Linked DNA regions of Homo sapiens: regions 2, 3 and 4 are each linked to region 1. Evidence: promoter capture Hi-C in human tissues and cell types (Jung and others, 2019). All regions are on one chromosome and are shown on one strand. Each heading gives the region's core, a stretch centred on a gene start or on the middle of the fragment in contact. The rest is flanking DNA. Distances are from core to core; before and after follow the strand shown. Region 1 holds the start of PPP1R26 (protein phosphatase 1 regulatory subunit 26). Region 2 holds the start of WDR5 (WD repeat domain 5). Region 3 overlaps LOC105376311 (a long non-coding RNA gene). Region 4 has its middle 11 kb from the start of BRD3OS.

Region 1 (3,574 bases), core at 726-3,225:
ATCCCAGCTACTGGGGAGGCTGAGACAGGAGAATTGCTTGAACCCAGGAGGCAGAGGTTGCAGTGAGCCGAGATCGCGCCACTGCACTCCAGCCTAGGAGACAGAACGAGACTCCATCTCAGAAAGAAAAAAAAAAATCGAGGGGGGTCGTCTCCCCAGGACAGCTTGTGGCTTTAAAACATTATGCGAGATGAATCATTCTTGAAAAGCCCCCTGGGTCGGGGATAGTGGCTCACACCTGTAATCCCAGCACTCTGGGAGGTGGAGGCAGGTGGATCACTTGAGGCCAGGAGTTCGAGACCAGCCTGGCCAACATGGCGAAACCCCATCTCTACTAAAAACACATAAATTAGCTGGGCGTGGGAGCCCACGTCTGTAGTTCCAGCTACTCCAGGGGCTGAGGCACGAGAATCGCTTGAACCAGGGAGGCGGAGATTACAGTGAGCCGAGATCAGCCATTGCACTCCAGCCTGGGCGACAAAGCGAGACTCTGGCTCTAAAAAAAAAAAAAAAAAAAAAACAAGAAAAGCCCCCTAATCAGTCCTTAGAGATAGGTGTGGGCCCAAGCCAGAGGTGCAGGCTTTGTCAAATTGCTGCCTCAGGATACGGTCTTGAGGGTGGCTGTGGGGACACCCAGCACCTGCACCCCAAGGCCACACGGTGTCAGATTTTAGGAAGCGGTGGAGAACACTCGGGTACCTTCTCGGTCCAGACATCAACCTTCTGGAGAGAACCAAAGCACCCACACTGGGCCCTCGCCATCCTAACAGTCTGCCCACCTGTGAGAAACGCCCCCAAATACTCTACATTTCTCGGTTGGCCGAAAAGCAGCTCAGCCAGCGGTCTTACCTCCCAGGTGGGGTTTCCCCCCAGGGTAGGGAGGCCAGGGTCTGCAGGCCAGGGAGAGGAGCCCCGGTGCAGGAGCGGGCGGGGCAGCAGGAGGACCCGCTCCAGCCACCCAGAAGTGGGCGTGGGCTAGAATTCAGCTCCCAGCCTTCCAGAAGCTGCAATTTTACAACCTCACTACAAGCGTCCCCCAGCAAAGCTGCACCGCCATTTCCTGTGCTTGGGAACTGAAGGCAAGGTGAGCCCCTCCCGGCTGCCCCGGCCCGACCTCCCCTGACTCCCAAGCTTGGGCTACTCACGGCCTGCGGGCTGGGCAGGGTCCCCCAAGGGAGCTCCCCTCCCCGAGGGCGCGCTCACCCTAGCCGCTGGGATCGGCGACCTGGTCCTCGGCCCGGCGGGAGTGAACGCCTCCCAGGGAAGAGGCCGGGCCTCCAAGCAGGTCTGCACCCCCGGAGTTATGTTTCTGGGATCCGAGGACTAGCGAGCTTGGGGCCCGGGAGAGCGGCCACCCTCCCGGAAGCTCCGCCTGGCGCAGGGCGTGAACCGCAGTCTCCAGGCCGGCCGGGCCGCGGCCATTCTCGGAGGGCAGCGGCCGCCCCGGGCCGGGCCAAAGCTCCCCACCGCGGGCCCTCACCTGCGCCTCACCTGGGGCTCCAGGAGCGCGGGGCGCGCGGGCCGAGAGTCGCACGGAGGCCAGAGACAGGATCCCCGCCCGGGGAACGGAGCAGCCCCGGCGCCGATCCCCGTCCGCCTGCCTCGGGGAGCCCCCGCCGCCCGCCCGCCGCGGCCTGCACGGCGCGCCGGCCCCGGCCTGGCTGGCCCTCCTGTCCCCGACCCCCCAGCTTCCCAGCCCCCGAGCCCCCCGGCCCCGGCCCTGCACCCGCTCACCTCCGCCCGTCCCCCGCCGCCCGCCGCGCGGACCCCGCCTGCGCCCGCGTCCCACGTCCCGGGGGAGGCGGCGGGCCGGGGGCGGGCCGGAGGCTGCAGGGCCAGCGCGCTCCGCCCTCGGCCGGGGCGCGGGGAGGGGGCGCAGGGGCGTCCGGCCGGGCCCCCCGCCTCCCCGCCTCCCCGCGCGCCGCCGCTGCCGCCGCCCCGCGCCCGGGCCGCGCCGTGGGAAGCGCGGGAGGGGAGGGGCGGGGCGGGGGGCGGGGCGACCCCCCCAAGCCGCCCCCTCCCCGCGACCTACCGGACGGTGGCGGCGGCGGCCGCACTCCGGAAGCCGTGCCCGTGGCTGGGCATCATGGGAATGGCACGGCCGAGTTCCGGGGGAGGCGCGCGGCCCGGCCGGACCCCCGCCCGCGAGAGCGCGCCCACCTGCCGCCGCGCCCGCGCCCCGGGGACGCCCCCGCCCCGCCCCGCCCGGTTCGGACGCGGCCCCCTCCGCGGGGTGCGGGGCGAAGGCGCTTGGGCCGGGCCGAGCCCCGTGCTGCCCGCCTCCCGTACCGCGGCCACCTCCGGGGGGCGCGCAGGGGGCGCGGGGTCGCCGGGAAGTTCTGGGCGCGGGGGGCGTGGCCGTGGGAAAGCGCTCGGAGCCGCGGGAAGGGAGCGTGCGGGGCCCCGGCGCCAACCGAGTTCCTCCCCGAAGTTCACGCGGGGCTCCGGGCTGAGACCGGCCCGCCCGCCCCTCCAGCCCCACAGCCTTGGGCCGGGGTCGGGGGCGGCCCCCGCGTGTCCCCGCGGCTGCCCCACCCGAGCTTGCGGCGGGGAGTGGACGCACGACCTGCCCGGGGCGGCGGCTCCTCGAGCACACCTGCCGCCAGGTTCGGGGGAGGGAACAGTTTCTAGGAACTGCCCCGGACCTTGAGGCCGCTGCTGTTTCTGCTTCTGCTGTGCACTGACCATGTGACCTTGAAAGTCTTCCCAGTTTTGTTTTATAAAAGGTCCAGGGTGTGTGCCCGAGGCTGGCGGTGGCCCGGGTGTGCTCAGCATCCCCGGGCGGCGGGGAACGGGCAGACCCGACTGGATCCTCCCTCAGCGCCCACTCGTGGAAGGGGCAGATGGTGCGCAGGGGCACCGCGCTGCTTCTGTAAGCCCCCTGGGCCCTGATCCACACGTGTCTGGGAGATGAATTTGTGGGTTCGGTTCCTGTCTAGAAAGTGTCAGAGATTTGATAGGATCAAAATCAGAGACTTGCCTTGGAGGGGTGCTTCTAGTCATGCCAGCCTGGGAAGCTGGAGGGCCAGTTTTGGGTCAGGAAACCCATTAAAGAATTGTTTTAATGCCTTCGTGAATTTTTTCAAAAAGCAATTTTTTTTTTCTCATGAAATAATACTCTTTCATTACCAAACTTTGGGGAGATGATCTAATTAATAAGGTGACTTCCCAGAGACATGGGCTGTTAAGGTTTTGGCATGCTGCTTCACAGTTTTTAAAACAGTGCTGTGGTGAACAGCTTTCATGATGCCTCCTTAGAGCGGCTCTGAGCATTTCCTGCGGGCAAATCCCTAGAAGAGGCCGGCGGGCCAAAGACTATGCTGCATTTTGCCAAAATGCCCTCCAGAAATGCGGGGCCAGCCTGCCGTCCACCCACTGGTGAGCGGGCATGCCCGCTTGCCTGTCCTCTTGCCAGCCCTGAGATATGTCATTGCGTTATGTCTTTGGCAGTCTGATAGGCGAAACAGCCCTTTTCATCACTTGAATCCTAATTTCTTTGACTGCTGGTGATGTTGAACATCTTTTCATTTTATTATTGGCCATTTGGAATATTGCCTGTCTGTGTTCTTTGCCC
Region 2 (3,209 bases), core at 504-3,003, 1.3 Mb after region 1:
GAAGGCAGAACCAAGATTGCGCCACTGCACTCCAGCCTGGGCCAAACAGTGAAACTCCGTCGGGGGGTGGCGGGGAATGCAATTTCTTGACCCAACACACCCACCAAGTTTCTACGTCGGTGGGGTCTAGGCTTGGCGTGTTTTTTTTTTGTTTTTGTTTTTTTTTTGAGACACAGTCCAAAGAGTCCAGGTGCACGATCTGGGCTCACTACAACCTCCACCTTCCGGGTTCAAGTAATTCTTGCGCCTCAGCCTCCAGTTTAGCCGGGATTACAGGCGCGTACCACTACGCCCGGCCAATCTTTTGTATTTTTAGTAGAGACGGAGTTTCGCCATGTTGCCCAGGCTAGTCTCGAACTCCTGACCTCAGGCAATCCGCCCGCCTCAGCCTCCCAAAGTGCTAGGATTACAGGCGTGAGCCACCGCGCCGGGCCAAGGCTTGGCATTTTCATGAACACTCAGGTGTCTCTGTGGAACAATCCTTTTGAGAGAACAGGAAGGTTGGAGACTTGATCTTGAGGAAAGCGGGGGCCAAGGTTACGGGAACGGTGATGAATTGGCGGCCCCTAGACCAGATGCTGCCTGGCTCCTCCTAGCAGCCACTGCTTTTCATCCAGGTAAGCCTGACCACCTGAAGCCGAGCAACCAAACCTCAGTGTGCCCTCCTGGACTGCATGCCACAGGCCGATTCCTGAGTCCCTCAGTCCCTGAGGTGGAGCCCAGGAATCTGCCTGTGACATGCAGTCAGAAAAGCATACTGTGTGCAAAGACAGGAATTAATCTGCATCTTAAACACCAGCCGGGTGGCCGGCCCAACAGAGGTGGGGACCTGGCTCTCCCTATCTGAGATCCTGGACAGGCTCCCCGCCTGGGTCCTTCGCTTTCCTGTCTTCCCCACCGGCTAGGACAGCACCTGCCCAGGTCACAGATTAAACTAGCATTTGAGGAGATGGGTAAACGGACCGGGGTGAGTGGAAACTTGCAAGCGAGACAGCAGGGAGTGTCGTTAGCGATGTAACAGGCCGACCTCTGTTTGGTCCGGGAACGTAACCGCTCAAAATGGCTCTCGCAGACCGGCCAGGACAGGTCTGCGGCCCCGCGCGAGGAGGCACGGTGGGCCTACCGTTCAGGACCGAGGACCCGCACCCCAGGACCCCACCTAGCGAGCTGCAGCCTGGCTGCCTCGGGTTGGGGTGAGCGGCGGGAGCGGGCTGGGGGCGTTTCTACGAGGAGGGGAAGCGCACCTCGTCCAGGGACTGAGTGGCTTGGTGGGTCTGGGGTCCTTCCCTGAAGGGGCAGTGGAGGGAGAGGGGCGATGTGAGGCCGGGCACGCTGCCTGCGGGAAAGAGGACCCAGTGCCGGCGCTCTGGCCTTGTCAGCGGTCCGCCGGGGAGGCGGAGGTGGGGGCGCGAGTGGGGGCGGACCGGGTGGAGGGAACTGCGCGCGCGGCCGTCCACCGAGGGGCCGGGGCGGGGGTCCCGGGCGGGGCCGCTGCAGCGGGAGCAGCGCCCGGGGCTGGGCCTGGCCCGAGGCCCGGCGGGGAACACGTGCGGCGGCCGGGTGCGGTTTGGAAGCTTCTGGCGCCGCCCCGCTGCCCGCCTTGTGTTCCCCGGGCCGGGCGGCTGCCCGCTTACCTGCCGGGCCGCGGCGGCGGGGCCGGGCGCTCGGGGCGTCGCGTCGGCCGCCGCCTGGGCGGGAGCGCGGACTCAGCTCGACAAGGCGGCAGCTCGGGCGGGCGCCAGGCGGCGGGGGCGCAGTGCGCGTGCGCGAGGGGAGGGGGCGGTGTCCGGGGGGCGGGGCGAGCTCACAAAGCCGGCCTCTCGGAGGAGCGCTACGGGCAGCGACAGCGGCCAGAATGCCTCGGGCCGGCCCAACGCTTTAAAGGGACAGCACGGGGCGCGCGCTTCCCGCTTAAAAGCTTTAATCCCCGAATTTGACTGGTGCAGGCCCTTCTAATGCACTTCCTAAAAACTGAAGTATAATAATACATACAGGAAAGTGCTAGTGTGCCCTCGCGTTTCCACAGACAGCACGCCCTGTACACAGACACCAGCGGCCCTCCGGGACCTGCGCAGGTGGCGTCGCCCGGCGTTGTCTCCGGAGTCGATTCGGGCCGGGGCACCTCCCCGGGCGACCAGGCCCCTTCTTGATCATCGCTGGTACGGATGAGAGCGGCAGTGGGCATTTGGAAAGCACCTGGGGCCGCGCCCGGGCGCAGTGCCCCCATGTGGCCTCCCACCCCGGGCGGGCAGGACGATTCCTGCCCATCTGGAAGACCAGGAACCTGCGCGTTCACAGGGTTCGGAAGCCCGGGCTGCGCCTTCCCGCGGGGCCGGCTGCCGGGCTGGGGGCTCTTCCCGCCTCTGCATGCACAGAGCCCGCGGTGCACGAACCTGCTCCCCGCCAGCCCCGCGGACTGGCAGGGCCGCTCTGGAGTCACCCGCGCCCGCTCCGCAGTGCGCAAACTCACTTCGCAGCGGGCTCTCCCGGGGCCAGCCCTTCCCTCCTGGGCGGGCATTTTCACCTCCAGGTACAAGGGGGTGGTCCCCAGAGGAGGACTCAGGGGCTTAAGGAGAAGCTGAGGCCCGGTCCTCTGGCCTCAACGACTGCACATTCTCGCCGCCTGCTTCACTTCTTAGAGCCTTGGAGGTAGGCATGGCCTCCCTATCCCCTCAGCTAGGCCTGTGGGTAGAATAACATACAGTCCCTTATTCTCCAATTAAAAATGGGAACACAGAATATGACACAGGAACCCATGCAAACAAAGGGATAGAGCATTTGAAATAAAAATGCCAAGGAGGGTGAGGTGAGCGGTTGTCAGAGAGGTGGAACCGGAAGACTGGCAGTTGGTCTGGAGTCCCCTTCCCAGGAAGGACACAGAGAAGGCAAGGTCCCTGTCTGGTCCTTCAGGGCTCCATATGGATTTGTGTGCCCAAGAGGCCGGATCCCTTGGGCCAGGTGCCCTGGAGCATGGAGTGGTGACAGTCACAGGTTAGCAAACCCAGTTCGGATGAAGAAGCGCATCTTTATCTCCGTCCACCTGGCCGCCTGGGCCGGAATCCCGAGCCCGTGACACGCTGCTCTCCTTCCACCCCACCTCAGCTCTCAGATCGTCCACTTCTCTCCCTCCCCACCCCAGCCCTACCTCCCACCTGGGTCTTTTCTAAACCTCCAAACAGAGAAACTCCTAAAAATCCAGCTCTGATCTG
Region 3 (3,711 bases), core at 1,115-3,614, 1.0 Mb after region 1:
TGAACCAGCAATGGGCCCTTGCCAGATACCAAATCCGCAGGTGCCTTGATCTTGGACTTCCAGCCTCCAGGACCATGAGCAATAAGCTGCTGTCTGTGAGCCACCCAGCCCAAGTGGACTAGGACAGGTCGGCTTCCCGTGGAGGCCCCACCTGCCATGCTGTCCAAATCAGCAACCCCACCACCACCTCCCACACTCACTGCCTTCCCCATGACTTGATTCCTCACATGCTTATCTGGGACCAAGGGCTCCAGCTCCAGATGCAGGCATCCACCAGCCTCAAGGCCAGGCACCACAAGCAGGCCCCAGGCATGCCACTTTCTCCCCTCTGTCTTCCTTTGACCTCAGAAGGCACCCTCCTGAGGCTTCCTGCAGTCTCTGGGGACAACTTAGTTGTGTCCCAGTGGGGTTCAACTCATTAGAATTCATAGTCGCTTTGTAGTTGACAAGGTCTGCTCCAGAAGGACCACCACAAATCTCCCCTGGGACTAATCAGGGCAGATGTCCCAGGCACCACACTTCCATGCTTCTGAACCACAGTGTTCTGCATCCCCTCCCTCCCCTCAGCAGCAAGCAGGGGAAGGGCACTCTCCCCAGCCCATGAGATGGGCAGCAGGCAAGGAGGGGTGCAGGGGCTCTGCCTGGGGAATCGCAGAAGCATCACACAGTTCTCTGCCTTCACTCCTGGCCCTGAAAGCCCCTTCTCTGTATTTTGCTCTTCATTTCCAGAGCAGGATGTGGGAAACACAAGCACTGGAGGAAAAGGAGGACCCTTCAGCTAAGACGGAATCAGGGATGTTCATATGCGGGTCCGTCCCTGCTTCTACAGCCCGCCACGGTCCATTCTGGGGCAGCATCTTGGCCCCTAAGCATGGGGACAGAGAGCAAAAAGGCAGCATCTGCAAATCAAACTAAGCAGCATGTTCCAGGGCTGGGCAAATGGGAGAGGGAGGAGCCGGGAGGTGGTTGCCAGGGAAACATCAGAGCTTAGCCAGTCAGCAGGGGCCACCAGTTTGGTTGCCGGGTGCACTCTGCAGGATGACACTGCCCTCAGGTGGTGGATAGGGATGCTGACAGCCACGGCACCAGGGACCGCTATGTCCTGAGCCGATGGAGGCACCTTAGGATGTTTTCCCCTCGCTCTGTGTATACTAAAGATACCCAAGTAGGGCTGACCCTGCATACAGCTCCCATGGCCTCTCTGGGGGAGCAAGCTGAGGATATTCCGTTGTGATGAGGTTTCACAAGCATCCTGACCTCTGGGGAAGTTGCTTTTGCCACAGTTCCCATCAAGTGTTGCCCTGCATGCCAAGGAAACAGAGCCCCTTGCAGGGAAGACAAAGGGTCCATGAGATGCCTCCTTCCTTGAACATGACAAAATTCAGTGCTGTCATCCACATAATTCAGCGGCAAAGATAGGTTTTACTGAATTTCTTCAGTAAGGTATTTTCGTTTTCTAAACCCTAAAACTTGGAATAATTAGAGGTTGCCACCCAGTGGGGACTCAGAAAATTGCAACCCAGCTTTATCAGCTGTTGTAACTCTCCAAACAAAACCAAGGTCTCTGCCTATGTGTCGGGGGTGGGGTGGGGCAGGGTGGGTGTTCAGGGACTGGTGGAGTTTCTAGAGCCCCAAGAGGGGTGACATGTCCAACAGAAAGAAACCACCAAATTCCAAATTCAGGAGGACAGTGGAACAAAGTCTGCTGGCCTTGGACCTTTAAGCTGTCTGCCTTCCCACACCCTCGCTTTCCAACTCACCCAATGAAGAACACAGCTGCACAGTGACAGTCCCATCAAGCCTGTGTCTGCTGCACCCAGACAAAGCCTCAGAGTCCTTCTCATCACAGTGCTGTCAGCAGCCCCTGCTACCAACTAGAATGGTCAAATGGCTGTATGGCCCCCTCAATCCATGTTCCATTTGCTCCTAGTTCACTTGGGGTTTTTTGGCAAATTGTTTGCTTTTCTCTAAAGTATATTGTTTGTAACTCAAGTAGCTTGTTTGTTGCACCCAAAGTTCACTAGGTTTGTACTTACTGGAAAATTCCTGGGTCCTGCCCTTTTGACGTGTCCCCACCCAGGGCCCCCTGCCACCACATGCCCTCCAGTGACACTGACACCTTGGCCCTCTATTCCCTGGACAGTCTGCAGTTGGCTGGCCCCAGGCACCTGCAGTCCAGGTGACCCCACCTTCCACTCTCACTACCAGCCCTGTGACATTCTGCCCCACAGCTGGGTTAGACTCCCTGAGCACATGCACCTCCGGTTCTCCCAGGCCCTTCACTGCAGCTGGGTCCTCAGTAGACCCACACACTTGTCATGGCTTCTGTGCAAGCCACCCACGTCCCTGGGCACCCAGAGAAAGGACCTTAGTAGAAAAGGCCAATGAGGCTGCAAAGCCCGGCACCTGGAAGGTCTCTCGCTCTCAGTCTCGCCCAGCTGCCCCTCACTGAGTGTTGGAGTGATGCCAGAGGGGAGCCACTGCAGGTCTTGGCTCAGGCAGCACCACAAGCAAGGTGCTAGGATTAGCCCCATTCCACAGGGGCAGAAACTGAGGCTCTGGGTGAGCGAGCAGGGAGCTGACGTGAGTGACTCCAGAGCCCACACTTATATCTCGCAGGGGCAGAGCAGAAGAGACCGAGGACTGGATTCCAGGCCAGCACCACCAGCAGGGCCCTTGGCTCCTGGCCACTACCTGAGATACAGAGGGTCTGCAGAGCCCATGTCCTCCTGCTCCCCTCCCCCACCCCATCCAACCTCCAACAAAGGAAAAATCTTCCCCAAACCCTGCCTGTCTGTTAGGAAAGCTCCCCTACTTCAGTCCCCTGGCCCTGGGGCCACTAACCCAGGTCTTACTGACCAAGAACTTGGGGGATTTTTATGCAACAGCAAGAGTCTGAACCAGAGAGGGGTGAGATACTCCCCGGGTGTCAAGCTGAGGCCCTGGTCCAACCACAACTCCTGGCGTGTTCACTGGCACTGGGCCTGGAAGCCAGGCCATGGCTTCTCCAGGTGGGCAGTGTCTGGGAGCTGGGACCCCACTTCTGCTTCCCCCTACCCCAATGCACACAGGCTGCTCCCAAACAGGCTGAGCCTGGGGGACCTTTCAGACTGAAATGCAAGAGCTGAACTGTGGAGGCAGACTTGCCACAAGCAGCCCTGTGATGGTCTCATGCCCATCCCACAGACAGTGGGCACACCAAACAGGGGAAACCGAGTCACAGGCATGTGCAACAGTGATCACCAGCTCAGCAGGTCCAGGGCCAGGACTCCAGAGAAACCCCTGCCCACCGCCACCCCACTCAGCCTGGAGGAAGCCCCACAGCTGGGCCCAAGCACCCTGGTGCCCCACCAGCCGCATCCTCCTCCCTCTGGGTGATAGGGCACTGAGTCTCCGCACCTGACTCGCTCAGGGTGCTGCTCCAGATTCTACGTGTTCCTCCTGCTCCCAGGTGAGAGCAGCACTCCTGACCACTGCTGGTCATGCACCAGCCTCAGCTTCCCCAGCTGTGACAGCTACCAGGGAACAGGCCTGCGGTGGCAAATGTGCCGTGTGTGCTGGAGGGTGGACATGCTGCTTCCGACAGCTGCACCCCAGTGAGTGCCGGGCGAGAGGAGCCCAGCGAGAAGCTTCCCAAAAGCGCCTCCCTCCTTCCAGGACGGGCAGCAGGAGAGCAGGGAAGTGCTACAGGCCCACCTGGCTTCCCTTTGA
Region 4 (3,233 bases), core at 14-2,513, 1.5 Mb after region 1:
TAAATTTAAAAAAGATACCAACTATAGACATCTGACTAAAGTATGCACTTGAATTAATAATAATGTATCAATATTGGTTCATTAATTGTCACAGACCACACGAAAGTAAGACATCAACAATAGAGAAAATTGGTATTGGGCTTATATGGACGCCGTACCATGTTTGCAATTTTTCTGTAAAACAAACTCTTCTAAAATTTTTAAAGCTTATTAAAATATACCTTTTAAGAGTGAAAAGGAAAGCCACAGAACGTGAGAAGAAATTTGCAATACATATGATTGATATGGAACTTATATTAGTCAGAGTCTGTTTGGAAGAGAGAAACCACACCAATCATTTGAACTGGGAGAAATAAATACAAGGAATTGTTCGCTAAGTACAAAGTTGTTAAGTTCAGAAGAAAAAAAATAACTCTAAAATATCCTAAAGTAGCACCTGCAGGAAGCAACTACCACCACCCCTAGGGATAAGGAACAAAGGGAAGAGGTTGGAATGATGAAAACCTAGATGCTTAGAGGAGGGACCCATGAAGCTGCCAGAAGTGTCCAAACCAGAGTGACTCCATCTTGAATGAGAGAAAAATATAGTGAGACCTGCTGGGTCACATTCCCAGGAGGTGAAGCACTCTTATGGTTGAGGGAGCAAGTTAATGATGCTTACTAACTAAACAGACCCAGTACTTCTGGAAATGCCCTGATGTCCTGATATCTTAAGGAAAAAAACTTTCTTAATTTAAGAATAGGTTTTGGCTGGGCGCAGTGGCTCAGGCCTGTAATCCCAGCACTTTGGGAGGCCAAGACGTGGGCATCACCTGAATCCAGGAGGTTGAGACCAGCTTGGGCAACATGGTGCCATCTCTACCAAAAACCAAAATTAGCCAGGTGTTGTGGCACACACCTGTGGTCCCAGCTATTTGGGAGGCTGAGGTGGGAGGATCATTGAGCCTGGGAGTTTGAGGCTGCAGTGATCCATGATCGCGCCACTGCACTCCAGCTTGGGGGAGGGGAGTAAGACCGCCATCTTAATTGAAAAAAAAAAAGGAATAGCTAGATACAAACATACACATACTTAATAGGCAAGGGAATCTACGGAGTTGATACAAGCCTTGTTCCTGCAACCAGTCCCGAGGCCGCAGTGTTTCACAGTCCCGAGGCCGCAGTGTATCACAGTCCCGAGGCCACAGTGTATCACAGTCCCGAGGCCGCAGTGTATCACAGTCCCGAGGCCGCAGTGTTTCACAGTCCCGAGGCCGCAGTGTATCACAGTCCCGAGGCCGCAGTGTATCACAGTCCCGAGGCCGCAGTGTTTCACAGTCCCGAGGCCGCAGTGTATCACAGTCCCGAGGCCGCAGTGTTTCACAGTCCCGAGGCCGCAGTGTTTCACAGTCCCGAGGCCGCAGTGTATCGCAGTCCCGAGGCCGCAGTGTTTCGCAGTCCCGAGGCCGCAGTGTATCGCAGTCCCGAGGCCGCAGTGTTTCGCAGTCCCGAGGCCGCAGTGTATCGCAGTCCCGAGGCCGCAGTGTTTCGCAGTCCCGAGGCCGCAGTGTATCGCAGTCCCGAGGCCGCAGTGTATCGCAGTCCCGAGGCCGCAGTGTTTCACAGTCCCGAGGCCGCAGTGTTTCACTGTCCCGAGGCCGCAGTGTATCGCAGTCCCGAGGCCGCAGTGTATCGCAGTCCCGAGGCCGCAGTGTTTCACTGTCCCGAGGCCGCAGTGTATCACAGTCCCGAGGCCGCAGTGTATCACAGTCCCGAGGCCTCGGTGTTTCACAGTCCCGGGGCCGCGGTGTTTCACAGTCCCGGGGCCGCGGTGTATCACAGTCCCGGGGCCGCGGTGTATCACAGTCCCGGGGCCGCGGTGTATCACAGTCCCGGGGCCGCGGTGTTTCACAGTCCCGGGGCCGCGGTGTTTCACAGTCCCGGGGCCGCGGTGTTTCACAGTCCCGGGGCCGCGGTGTTTCACAGTCCCGGGGCCGCGGTGTATCACAGTCCCGGGGCCGCGGTGTATCACAGTCCCGGGGCCGCGGTGTTTCGCAGTCCCGGGGCCGCGGTGTTTCGCAGTCCCGGGGCCGCGGTGTATCGCAGTCCCGAGGCCGCGGTGTTTCGCAGTCCCGAGGCCGCAGTGTATCGCAGTCCCGAGGCCGCAGTGTATCGCAGTCCCGAGGCCGCAGTGTTTCACTGTCCCGAGGCCGCAGTGTATCACAGTCCCGAGGCCGCAGTGTATCACAGTCCCGAGGCCTCGGTGTTTCACAGTCCCGGGGCCGCGGTGTTTCACAGTCCCGGGGCCGCGGTGTATCACAGTCCCGGGGCCGCGGTGTTTCACAGTCCCGGGGCCGCGGTGTATCACAGTCCCGGGGCCGCGGTGTATCACAGTCCCGGGGCCGCGGTGTTTCACAGTCCCGGGGCCGCGGTGTATCACAGTCCCGGGGCCGCGGTGTTTCACAGTCCCGGGGCCGCGGTGTATCACAGTCCCGGGGCCGCGGTGTTTCACAGTCCCGGGGCCGCGGTGTATCGCAGTCCCGGGGCCGCGGTGTTTCGCAGTCCCGGGGCCGCGGTGTATCGCAGTCCCGGGGCCGCGGTGTTTCGCAGTCCCGGGGCCGCGGTGTATCGCAGTCCCGGGGCCGCGGTGTTTCGCAGTCCCGGGGCCGCGGTGTATCGCAGTCCCGGGGCCGCGGTGTATCGCAGTCCCGGGGCCGCGGTGTATCGCAGTCCCGGGGCCGCGGTGTATCGCAGTCCCGGGGCCGCGGTGTATCGCAGTCCCGGGGCCGCGGTGTATCGCAGTCCCGGGGCCGCGGTGTATCGCAGTCCCGGGGCCGCGGTGTTTCGCAGTCCCGGGGCCGCGGTGTATCGCAGTCCCGGGGCCGCGGTGTTTCGCAGTCCCGGGGCCGCGGTGTATCGCAGTCCCGGGGCCGCGGTGTATCGCAGTCCCGGGGCCGCGGTGTATCGCAGTCCCGGGGCCGCGGTGTTTCGCAGTCCCGGGGCCGCGGTGTATCGCAGTCCCGGGGCCGCGGTGTATCGCAGTCCCGGGGCCGCGGTGTATCGCAGTCCCGGGGCCGCGGTGTATCGCAGTCGCGGGGCCGCGGTGTATCGCAGTCGCGGGGCCGCGGTGTATCGCAGTCGCGGGGCCGCGGTGTATCGCAGTCCCGGGGCCGCGGTGTATCGCAGTCGCGAGGCCGCGGTGTTTCGCAGTCCCGAGGCCGCGGTGTATCGCAGTCCCGAGGCCGCGGTGTATCGCA

Evidence for each region. Contacts are between HindIII fragments. The study calls those that stand out against the background at their distance.
Region 2: the fragment with the promoter of WDR5 here is called in contact with the fragment with the promoter of PPP1R26 in region 1 in 1 of the 25 tissues and cell types used here (spleen).
Region 3: a fragment that was not itself captured here is called in contact with the fragment with the promoter of PPP1R26 in region 1 in 1 of the 25 tissues and cell types used here (lymphoblastoid cells).
Region 4: a contact is called between a fragment that was not itself captured here and the fragment with the promoter of PPP1R26 in region 1, in 1 of the 25 tissues and cell types used here (spleen).

The regions. Positions count from the first base shown.
Region 1 is chr9:135,478,183-135,481,756 of GRCh38, reverse strand. It overlaps PPP1R26 (protein phosphatase 1 regulatory subunit 26), which reads right to left and starts at 1,975. Exons shown (of 4, transcript NM_014811.5): 1 at 1,735-1,975. RefSeq lists silencers at 1,334-1,383, 1,394-1,453. The HindIII fragment of the contact is 17,940 bases long and covers 1-3,574 here.
Region 2 is chr9:134,134,626-134,137,834 of GRCh38, reverse strand. WDR5 (WD repeat domain 5) reads right to left here and starts at 1,753. Exons shown (of 14, transcript NM_017588.3): 1 at 1,635-1,753. It overlaps WDR5-DT (WDR5 divergent transcript), which reads left to right and starts at 1,853. Exons shown (of 2, transcript NR_186420.1): 1 at 1,853-2,649. RefSeq lists enhancers at 772-1,696, 2,603-2,712 and silencers at 1,623-1,802, 2,243-2,412. The HindIII fragment of the contact is 22,361 bases long and covers 1,747-3,209 here.
Region 3 is chr9:134,447,082-134,450,792 of GRCh38, reverse strand. The region is part of intron 1 of LOC105376311 (a long non-coding RNA gene); the gene reads right to left. Among named protein-coding and RNA genes, the nearest start is that of MIR4669, 70 kb to the right of the region's middle. RefSeq lists silencers at 856-1,150, 3,325-3,711. The HindIII fragment of the contact is 7,221 bases long and covers 1-3,711 here.
Region 4 is chr9:134,012,518-134,015,750 of GRCh38, reverse strand. No RefSeq gene overlaps it. Among named protein-coding and RNA genes, the nearest start is that of BRD3OS, 11 kb to the left of the region's middle. The HindIII fragment of the contact is 3,578 bases long and covers 1-3,052 here.